Regions from separate parts of the Homo sapiens genome. Here regions 2 and 3 are each linked to region 1. The links are contacts of gene promoters, found by promoter capture Hi-C in human tissues and cell types (Jung and others, 2019). All regions are on one chromosome and are shown on one strand. The core of a region is centred on a gene start or on the middle of the fragment in contact, and the rest is flanking DNA. Distances in the headings are between cores, read along the strand shown.

Region 1 (2,908 bases), core at 166-2,665:
ACCTGTCCAGCCCCATCTGCCTCATTCTTGTCCCCTGGGCCCCCACTACACAGTCCTCCTTCAGTCCCTCTGGCTTGCTATGTGACTTCCCACTGTGGGGTTTTGCACATGCTGTTCCTCTGCCTCAAACACTCTTCCCTACCCACTTTCCTTCCACCCGTCAGTTCTCGACTCAAACTGATCAGTTTCCTCCAGCACTGAGTATGGGACCTCCTATGATTTTTAAAAAATTTTTATTTATGTATTTATTTATTTATTTTAGACAGAGTCTCACTCTGTCACCCAGGCTGGAGTGCAGTGGCGCGATCTTGGCTCACTGCAACCTCTGCCTCCTAGGTTCAAGCTTCAGCCTCCTTAGTAGCTGGGATTACAGGCATGTGCCACCATGCCCAGTTAATTTTTGTATTTTTAGTAGAGACAGGGTTTCGCCATGTTGGCCTGGCTGGTCTCGAACCCCTGACCTCAGGTGATCCACCCGCCTCGGCCTCCCAAAGTGCTAGAATTACAGGTGTGAGCCACTGCACCCGGCCCTTCTATGCAATTTTACATTAACTTATTTATTGCTTTAAAAAAAGAAATACCTGGTGCATAATAGGCACTCAATAAATGTCTATTAAAAGAACAAACTAAGAGAAAACATGCACGTATGTCTTGGCTCCCTTCTGAGCCCTCTGTGATTCATGTGGGCACCTTTTAGAACAGCCCGGACATATGTTTCTGGTGGGGGTGGGGTAGAGGGGAGGGTGGAAATGGGGGTAAGATGGAAGTTAAAATCAGAGCGCCTCCCTGAACTCCAAAGACAACCAGGTGAGACACCCAGAGAAGCATACTAGAAAACTTCAGAGTCAGAAGGGGTGAGGGGAATGGCTTCTGGCTGACGCCTTACATACGCCCTTGTAGAAAGGTGGGAGGGGCAGGGGGCAGGTGGGAGACTCAAGCCTGTGTAGGCAACATCCTATCGGAATTGCCCTGGCTGAGTCCTTCTGTTTGGGGCAGTGACGAGCAGGAGAATGGATCTGCTGGGTGTCTGTCTGTCCGTCTGTCTGAGAGGCTGCAGGAGGGAGCTGCGGGGAACACCAGGGAAGCAGGTGTGGAGAATCTCCCAAACTGAGTCCGTCTGGCCAGGTTTCCTGAGAAGGTCCCTGTCTGTCCACGTTAGGGATGCCAGAGGCCACTGAGAGTGGAGAAACAGGGAGTTTAGAGCCTGACTGTCTGGCTGTCCAAGAGTGGGAAGGAAGTTACTTCCAAATGAGAAGAAAGGCTCCACTTATGCCCCTCGCTACCGACCCCCCACCCCGCCCCAGTTTGCCCCCTTCCCCAGCTTTGGGGACATTCCTCTCCCTTCGTCCCTCCCAACCTCCCACCTACCTTCTTCCCTTTCTTGACTTCATATTCCATGGTGAAATGTCCCCTCTACTCCTGCCACCCTCCTGGCCATCCCTTCCACCCCCACATCCAGTTCCTTTGTTCTTTTTCCTGCCTGGTCGGAAACTCCACCAGCCCTGGAGTTCCTGCCCCTCCCATCTGATGGGGAGGGCAGGGGGTGTGGAGGACACAGCCTTGGGACCCTGCAGCTGAAGGGTGGAAGCCCAGGCAGAGCTGACCTGAGGAGGGAGGCTCAAGGCCTCTAGCCAGAAGGCGGGTTATTGGGGGAGCTTGGGAATTGGCCAAGGCTGGGAAAGGGCCCCCCACATTTGAAGTCCTGGTTTGGAAAATTCCAAGTTCCAGCCCTACTTCTGCCACTGACCTTGTTGTGTGACCTTGGCAAGGCAAGTCAGTTCCCCCTGTCACAGCCTGTTTCCCCCTCCTCTCTATAAGTTGGGAGTCAACACTGCCTCCCTCCCTAGGCTGCTGTGGTGAGAAATGAAAAGGTGGATGGAAAGTGCCTTATAGAGAGTATTGTAGCCAAGCAAGTTATGATTTTAAAAAATTAATCATTACTATTAAGGGAGGCAGTATGCGTGGGCTTTGAAGATAGGCTGCTTGAATTCGAATCCTGGCTTTGGCACTTACTAGGGTTATGACCTTTGGGAAGTCCCTTAACCACCAGTGCCTCAGTTTTCCCGTCTTTAAAATGAGCATAATACTAGTTTAACCTCATAGTGACCTTGCGGGGATTAAATGCACCTAGAAGAACTTCTGGCACATATTAAGTACTCAGTAAGGCTGGGCGTGGTGGCTCACACCTGTAATCCCAGCACTTTGAGAGGCTGAGGCAGGCAGATCACCTGAGGTGAGGAGTTCGAGACCAGCCTCGCCAACATGGTGAAACCTTGTCTCTACTAAAAATACAAAAATCAGCCGGGTGCGGTGGCACATGCCTGTAATCCCAGCTACTCTGGAGGCTGAGGCAGGAGAAGCGCTTGAACCTGGGTGGTGGAGGTTGCAGTGAGCTGAGATCCAGCCATTACACTCCAGCCTTGGTGACTGGCTGAGACTCCATCTCAAAAAAAAAAAAAAAAAAAAAAAAAACTGAAAAAAAATAAGTGCTCAGTAAACATTAACTGTTTACCTGCTTAGTGGTTGTCAAATTAAAGAACAAACAGAGGCTCTCTAAAATAAAAGATGTTTCACTTAGGAATTAAGCATTGCAGTGGGAATTACCCATATGCCATAGTAAGCGATGTGCATTTTCAGGGAGGTGGGGGGAAGACAAAGATTTTTAAAGGAAAAAAATAAGGATTACATTATTGTTTCTGAAATAATTATTCTTGATTGCAAAGATCAATAGCAAGGGTGATGCCAGTCTAAAGTTGGACAGGCAGTTGCTGGGCAGATGTCCTTGCGGAAGTATTTTTTGTGCAAGGTTTCAATGGCCTTTGTGCAAGGTTGTGATTTTTGTAGTCTTTTTTGTTATCAGTCTTGTTGTTATCTGTTTTGTTATCAGTCTTATTTGTTATGCAAGCAT
Region 2 (2,908 bases), core at 248-2,747, 120 kb before region 1:
TCTTTTTTGGGATTAGAAATTTTCTGGATTCCCTGTAATCCCAGCATTTTGGGAGGGTGAGGCGGGCAGATCACTTGAGGTCAGGAGTTTGAGACCAGCCTGGCCAACATGGTGAAACCCCGTCTCTACTAAAAATGCAAAAATCGGCTGGGCATGGTGGTGTGCACCTATAATCCCAGCTACTCAGGAGGCTGAGGCAGGAGAATTGCTTGAACCTGGGAGGCAGAGGTTGCAGTAAGCAGAGATCATGCCACTGCACTCCAGCCTGGGTGACAGAGCAAGATTCCATCTCACAAAAAAAAAAAAGAAAAGAAAAAGAAAATTTCCAGATTTTAGAAGGCAATGTGGTATACAAACCATAGCCAAGCTGGGTCTGGACAGTACCTCATATTCGATAACTATTTGTGCAGAGAAATGCAAAGATATTCATATTAAGTGGAATAGAAAAAGTCAATAAACAGCTTCATGTTCAGTTCTGGTCAGTTCTTGCCTTCAGTGAGCTTGGAAAAACTGAGTTCCAGAGCTTTCCGGGTGTGAAACTGCAGGGATTAAGGACCTCTATTAAACATTTCATGAATTGCTTGAGGAAAAATGGCCAAAAAGTCTGTTTTAACAATTTTGTGTTTCTTAGCATTCTCACTCAGGACAATGAGAAAAGAATGCACGTTACAGAGAGATGCGTCCCACCTTTACGTTGCCTCCCACTCCCTCTCTTCCCACCCAAGGCGTCCACCCTCACATACTTAGCTATGTGGGACTGGAAGCCAGAGCAGCTCTGGTACCTCCAGGCCACTCCTCTGCTCTGGAGGGAGCTTTTGACAGAGGTAGTGGGAAGAAGGTACTGCAGTGGTTAAGAGATGGGGTCTTGGGCTGGGTGTGGTGGCTCATGCCCGATAATCCCAGCACTCTGGGAGGCTGAAGCATGAGAACTGTTTGAGCCCAAGAGTTCAAGACCAGCCTGTGCAACATAGTGAGACCTCATCTCTACTTAAAAAAAAAAAAAAAAAAATTAGCCAGGCATGGTGGTGCACACCTGTAGTCCCAGCTACTTGGGAGGCTGAGGCAGAAGGATCACTTTAGCCTGGGAGGTCAAAGCTGCAGTGAGCTATGCTCACGCCACTGCACTCCAGCTTAGGCAACAGAGAAAGACCACGTCTCCTCTAAATAGAGATGGGGTTTGAACTAACCCTATGTCTTCCTCACTATGTGACCTTGAACATGTTAATTTTCCTTCCCAGGCCTCGGTTTCCCCATCTGTAAAATGAATAGGAAATCTGTGTAACATATGGAATTGGCCCCAGTGGGTTCTTGGGGGGCAACCTGAGCTAAGCCATGCACAATGCCTGGCATGTAAATAACCCTCAGTAAAAGTTATTTTAATGACTGTTCCTGCAAGTTACAAGTCTGACTGCCAAGGAAAAGAGACGTTCACAATGTATGAACAATATGAGCAGACACTAGGAGTTATGCTGACAAAGCTGGTAACAGAGAAGATGGAGCAGGTGAGAAAGGGAGGCAGAGATGCTAAAGAAGAGGCAGGTGGAGTAAGACAAAGGCACAAAAAGAGATGGACACATACATGACAGAGACAGAATACTTGAAAGCAAAAGTGAGAGTGAGAAAGAGACCGAGATGCAAATATACACAAGCATACACAGGGACAGAGACACAGAAAGAACCAGAAACAGAGAGGGGACCGAGAACCAGAGGCACAGGGAGAGGGAGAGGCAGAGTTCCGGGGTAACTGGCACTATTCTTTCTTCTCTGCAACCACAGGATGGACACGAACAGCTCACCATGGTGCTCCAGACACACTGCCTAGCACAGAGGCTCCAAAAATCCAGGAACACACTTACCTTGATTTCTACGGGATCGTTCTGGTGGAAGTTGATAGGCGCGACCCCAGGCACATAGAAGGCGCTTGTTTCACACATCAGGGAGAAAAGCAGTAAAGACCACGGCAACCAATCCTGCTCAGAAGAGAGGCCAGGGTTGGATTGGGGAGAAGAAGTGAAGAAGATCCTCTGAGGCAGATCAAGTCATACCACCTTCATGTTGCTTTAATTGACCCAGTGTAGCCACCCTCTGACCCATGAAGCCTGAAGACCTCATAAATGTTCTCTCCCAAATGCTCCCAAGAGTGCCACAGGACAATTCTGCACTTCCAGGAGTTAGCCACAAAGTAATTAACATCTGGGCAAAAGGGAAGACTATCACACAGGAGCCATGTCTCCCCACTTCTGGATCAATGTTCTTTTAACCATTTATAGTGTGTAACTCCCAGGATAGCTGGCAGGAAATAAAGCTCCAGGACATTTAATTAATTCCCATTTCTCTGTATAGCAACTAGTTCACGCTGTCAAAAGCTCCTATGTTACCAAGAGATGTTCCTACAAGTTTCTCCAAAACCGTGCTGGCCTCTCTCACCTCCCACTCTCCTCCTCGCTCAGCTCAGCCACACGGGCCTCCTTGTTGTCCTGACAACAAACCTTTCTGCACCCCTCAGGGCCTTCGTCTTTACTGTGCCTTCTGGTGGAATGCCCTTCCCACAGGCACCTGCACGGCACATCTCTCTTCTTTTTTTTTTTTGAGACGGAGTTACCCAGGTTGGAGTACAATGGCATGATCTCAGGTCACTGCAACCTCTGCCTCCCAAGTTCAAGTGAGTCTCCTGCCTCAGCCTACCGAGTAGCTGGGACTACAGGCATCCACCACCTCACCTGGCTAATTTTTCTATTTTTAGATCAGACGGGGTTTCACCACATTGCCCGGGCTGGTCTTCAACTCCTGACCTCAGGTGATCTGCCCACCTCGGCCTCCCAAAGTGCCGAGATTACAAGTGTGAGCTACCACGCCCAATGGCACATCTCCTTATTTCATTCAGGTCTCTCAAATATCACTTCCTCAG
Region 3 (2,908 bases), core at 166-2,665, 89 kb after region 1:
TCCATTTCACAGATTAGAAACTGAAGCACAGAGAGGGAGAGTAACTTGTCCAAGGTCACACAGCCAGTTAGTGGTGTTGCTGGGATGTGAACCTACATGGTCTAGGCCCAGAGCCTGAGTGTTTAAACTCTAGACTGGTGCTGCCCAGTAGGGCAGTCACTGGCCGCAAGACGCCATTTACATTTACCTTGATGAAAAGTAAATGAAATTACATGCTACAACATGGATGAAATTCGAAGACATAAGGCTAAGTGAAATAAGCCAGATACAAAAGGACAAATATTGTCTGATTCCACTTAGATGAGTCCCTGGAGTAGTCAAGTTCATAGAGATAGAAGGTAGATGGGGGTTGCCAGGGGCTGGGGAGAGGAGGGAACGGGGAGCTTGTGTTTAACAGTTACAGAGTTTCAGTTTGGGAAGATGAAACGTTCTGGAGACGGATGGTGGTGGTGGTGGTTGCACAACAATGTGAATGCACTTAGTGTGATAAAGCCACACACTTAAAAGAAGTTACAATGGTAAATTTCATGTTACAGATTTTACCACAATTTTTTTTTTTTTTTGAGAATGAGTCTTGCTCTGTTGTCCAGGCTGGAGTGCAGTGGCATCATCTTGGCTCACTGCAACCTCCACCTCTCGGGTTCAAGCAACTCTTGTGCCTCAGCCTCCTAAGTAGCTGGGATTACAGGTGACAGCCACCATGGTTAATTTTTGTATTTTTAGTAGAGATGGGGTTTCACCATGTTGGCCAGGCTGGTCTCGAACTCCTGACCTCAAATGATCTGCCCACCTCAGCCTCCCAAAGTGCTGGGATTACAGGTGTGAGCCACCACGCCCGACCCACAATTTTTTTTTATTATACTTTAAGTTCTAGGGTACATGTGCACAACGTGCAGTTTTGTTACATATGTATACATGTGCCATGTTGGTGTGCTGCACCCATTAACTCGTCATTTACATTAGGTGTATCTCCTAATGCTATCCCTCCCCCCTCCTTCCACCCCAAAATAAGCCCCGGTGTGTGATGTTCCCCTTCCTGTGTCCAAGTGTTCTCATTGTTCAATTCCCACCTATGAGTGAGAACATGCGGTATTTGGTTTTCTGTCCTTGCAATAGTTTGCTGAGAATGACGGTTTCCAGCTTCATCCATGTCCCTACAAAAGACATGAACTCATCCTTTTTTATGGCAGCATAGTATTTCATGGTGTATATGTGCCACATTTTCTTAATCCAGTCTATTATTGTTGGACATTTGTCTTGGTTCCAAGTCTTTGCTATTGTGAATAGTGCCACAATAAACATACGTGTGCATGTGTCTTTATAGCAGTATGATTTATAATCCTTTGGGTATATACCCAGTAATGGGATGGCTGGGTCAAATGGTATTTCTAGTTCTAGATCCCTGAGGAATCACCACACTGTCTTCCACACTGGTTGAACTAGTTTACAGTCCCACCAACAGTGTAAAAGTGTTCCTATTTCTCCACATCCTCTCCAGCACCTGTTGTTTCCTGACTTTTTAATGATCGCCATTCTAACTGGTGTGAGATGGTATCTCATTGTGGTTTTGATTTGCATTTCTCTGATGGCCACTGATGATGAGCATTTTTTCATGTGTCTGTTGCCGGCCCACAATTTTTAAGAAGGATATGAAATTATAAATCCAGTCCTCAGTCACACCAGCCATGTGGCAAGTGCTCAACATCCTGCATGTGGCTAGTGGTCACCGCATTGGAGAGCACAGATATCCATTTTCATCCCTCTAGAAAGTTCTGTTGGACAGTGCTGCCTACACCACCCATGGGCCCCCGAGGACATTGCTCCTTCTTCTCTACCTGCCAGCCCAGCTCTGGAAGACAGCAATGCTCTCATGCATCTGCACAGCACCTCGCAGGTTGCAAACACCTCTCCCACCTATTGTCCCCTTCACTCAAAGACAAGGGTCACACACTTGATGGGGTGACACAACAGCCCCAATAATGGCAGGCAGCACTAGCTCTCAGGGTAGACCTGCTTCACCCACCATTGTTCCCCACTCAGCTGTGTCAAGACAGAAGCAGCCAGGTCTTCCCTTCCTGGGACCTGGGCCCAGCCCTACCTCCACTCACGTGGCTGCCAGAGGGACTGACCGTGCTCCAGGCAGGCTGGGCCTCCAGGCTGCTGAGCTCTTTCCTGTAGTGCCCTGACAGTTTCATGGGAGGAGTCAAGACATTGAGCACTGCTGTGCGCCTCCTGGTACAGCAGGGGCTGGTCCTATAGGATTTCAGCCATCCTGCTCCTCCCACCCACCCTGCACCATCGTCACCGCTCAGGTTCAGAGGGCTTCGGTCATTTTCCCAAGACCACACAGCTGCTGAGTGGGAGAGGCAGGATTTGAACCAGGATTTCTACTGTACTGTGTCTTGGGACAAGAATGGATTGGGGTTGGGAGGTAGCTGCCCCCGAGGCTCAGTCTAGGCCCTGAGGAAGAGTCAGCCAAACTCTCCCCAGCCACGTGAGCAGGAGGCCCAGATAAAGAACGTGCATCGAGCGCTGAGTGCCAGGCACTGTGCTGGGTGTGTGGGTGTGTGTGAGAATGTGTGTGTGTGTGTGTGTGTGCGCGTGTTTGCTTATTAGCTCACTGCATCCTTAGCAGGTATAATTACCATCCCCATTTACTGGGGCACTGACAGGTGAAGTAACTTGCTCAAGGGCACACAGCTATTGAGTGACTGAGTGGCAAGATCAGGATTTGAACCTGGACAATCTGGCTCTGGAGACCCTGCTCCAATGGGCAGACCTGTGGGCAGAGTTTCTCTGCCAGCCCTCTGAGCTTTGATTGCAGGAAGGAGTGGCCCCTCCTGCTGGCAAGGTCAGAGGAGGGTTCAGGGAGGAAGGGGGAAGAGGCAGGCTCACCTTCCTCCAGTCC

Evidence for each region. The method cuts DNA at HindIII sites, captures the fragments that hold promoters and counts their contacts. A contact is called where the count stands out against the background at its distance.
Region 2: a contact is called between a fragment that was not itself captured here and the fragment with the promoter of CCM2L in region 1, in 2 of the 25 tissues and cell types used here (lymphoblastoid cells and mesenchymal stem cells).
Region 3: a contact is called between a fragment that was not itself captured here and the fragment with the promoter of CCM2L in region 1, in 2 of the 25 tissues and cell types used here (IMR-90 fibroblasts and spleen).

Annotation. Positions count from the first base shown.
Region 1 is chr20:32,008,945-32,011,852 of GRCh38, reverse strand. CCM2L (CCM2 like scaffold protein) reads right to left here and starts at 1,415. Exons shown (of 10, transcript NM_001365692.1): 1 at 1,369-1,415. The coding sequence starts at 1,398. RefSeq lists enhancers at 1-155, 1,066-1,593. The HindIII fragment of the contact is 15,048 bases long and covers 1-2,908 here.
Region 2 is chr20:32,132,075-32,134,982 of GRCh38, reverse strand. TM9SF4 (transmembrane 9 superfamily member 4) reads right to left here. Exons shown (of 18, transcript NM_014742.4): 2 at 1,857-1,970. Among named protein-coding and RNA genes, the nearest start is that of TM9SF4, 24 kb to the right of the region's middle. RefSeq lists an enhancer at 1,542-1,701. The HindIII fragment of the contact is 7,462 bases long and covers 1-2,908 here.
Region 3 is chr20:31,919,920-31,922,827 of GRCh38, reverse strand. TTLL9 (tubulin tyrosine ligase like 9) reads right to left here. Exons shown (of 15, transcript NM_001008409.5): 7 at 2,896-2,908. Among named protein-coding and RNA genes, the nearest start is that of PDRG1, 31 kb to the left of the region's middle. The HindIII fragment of the contact is 3,940 bases long and covers 1-2,908 here.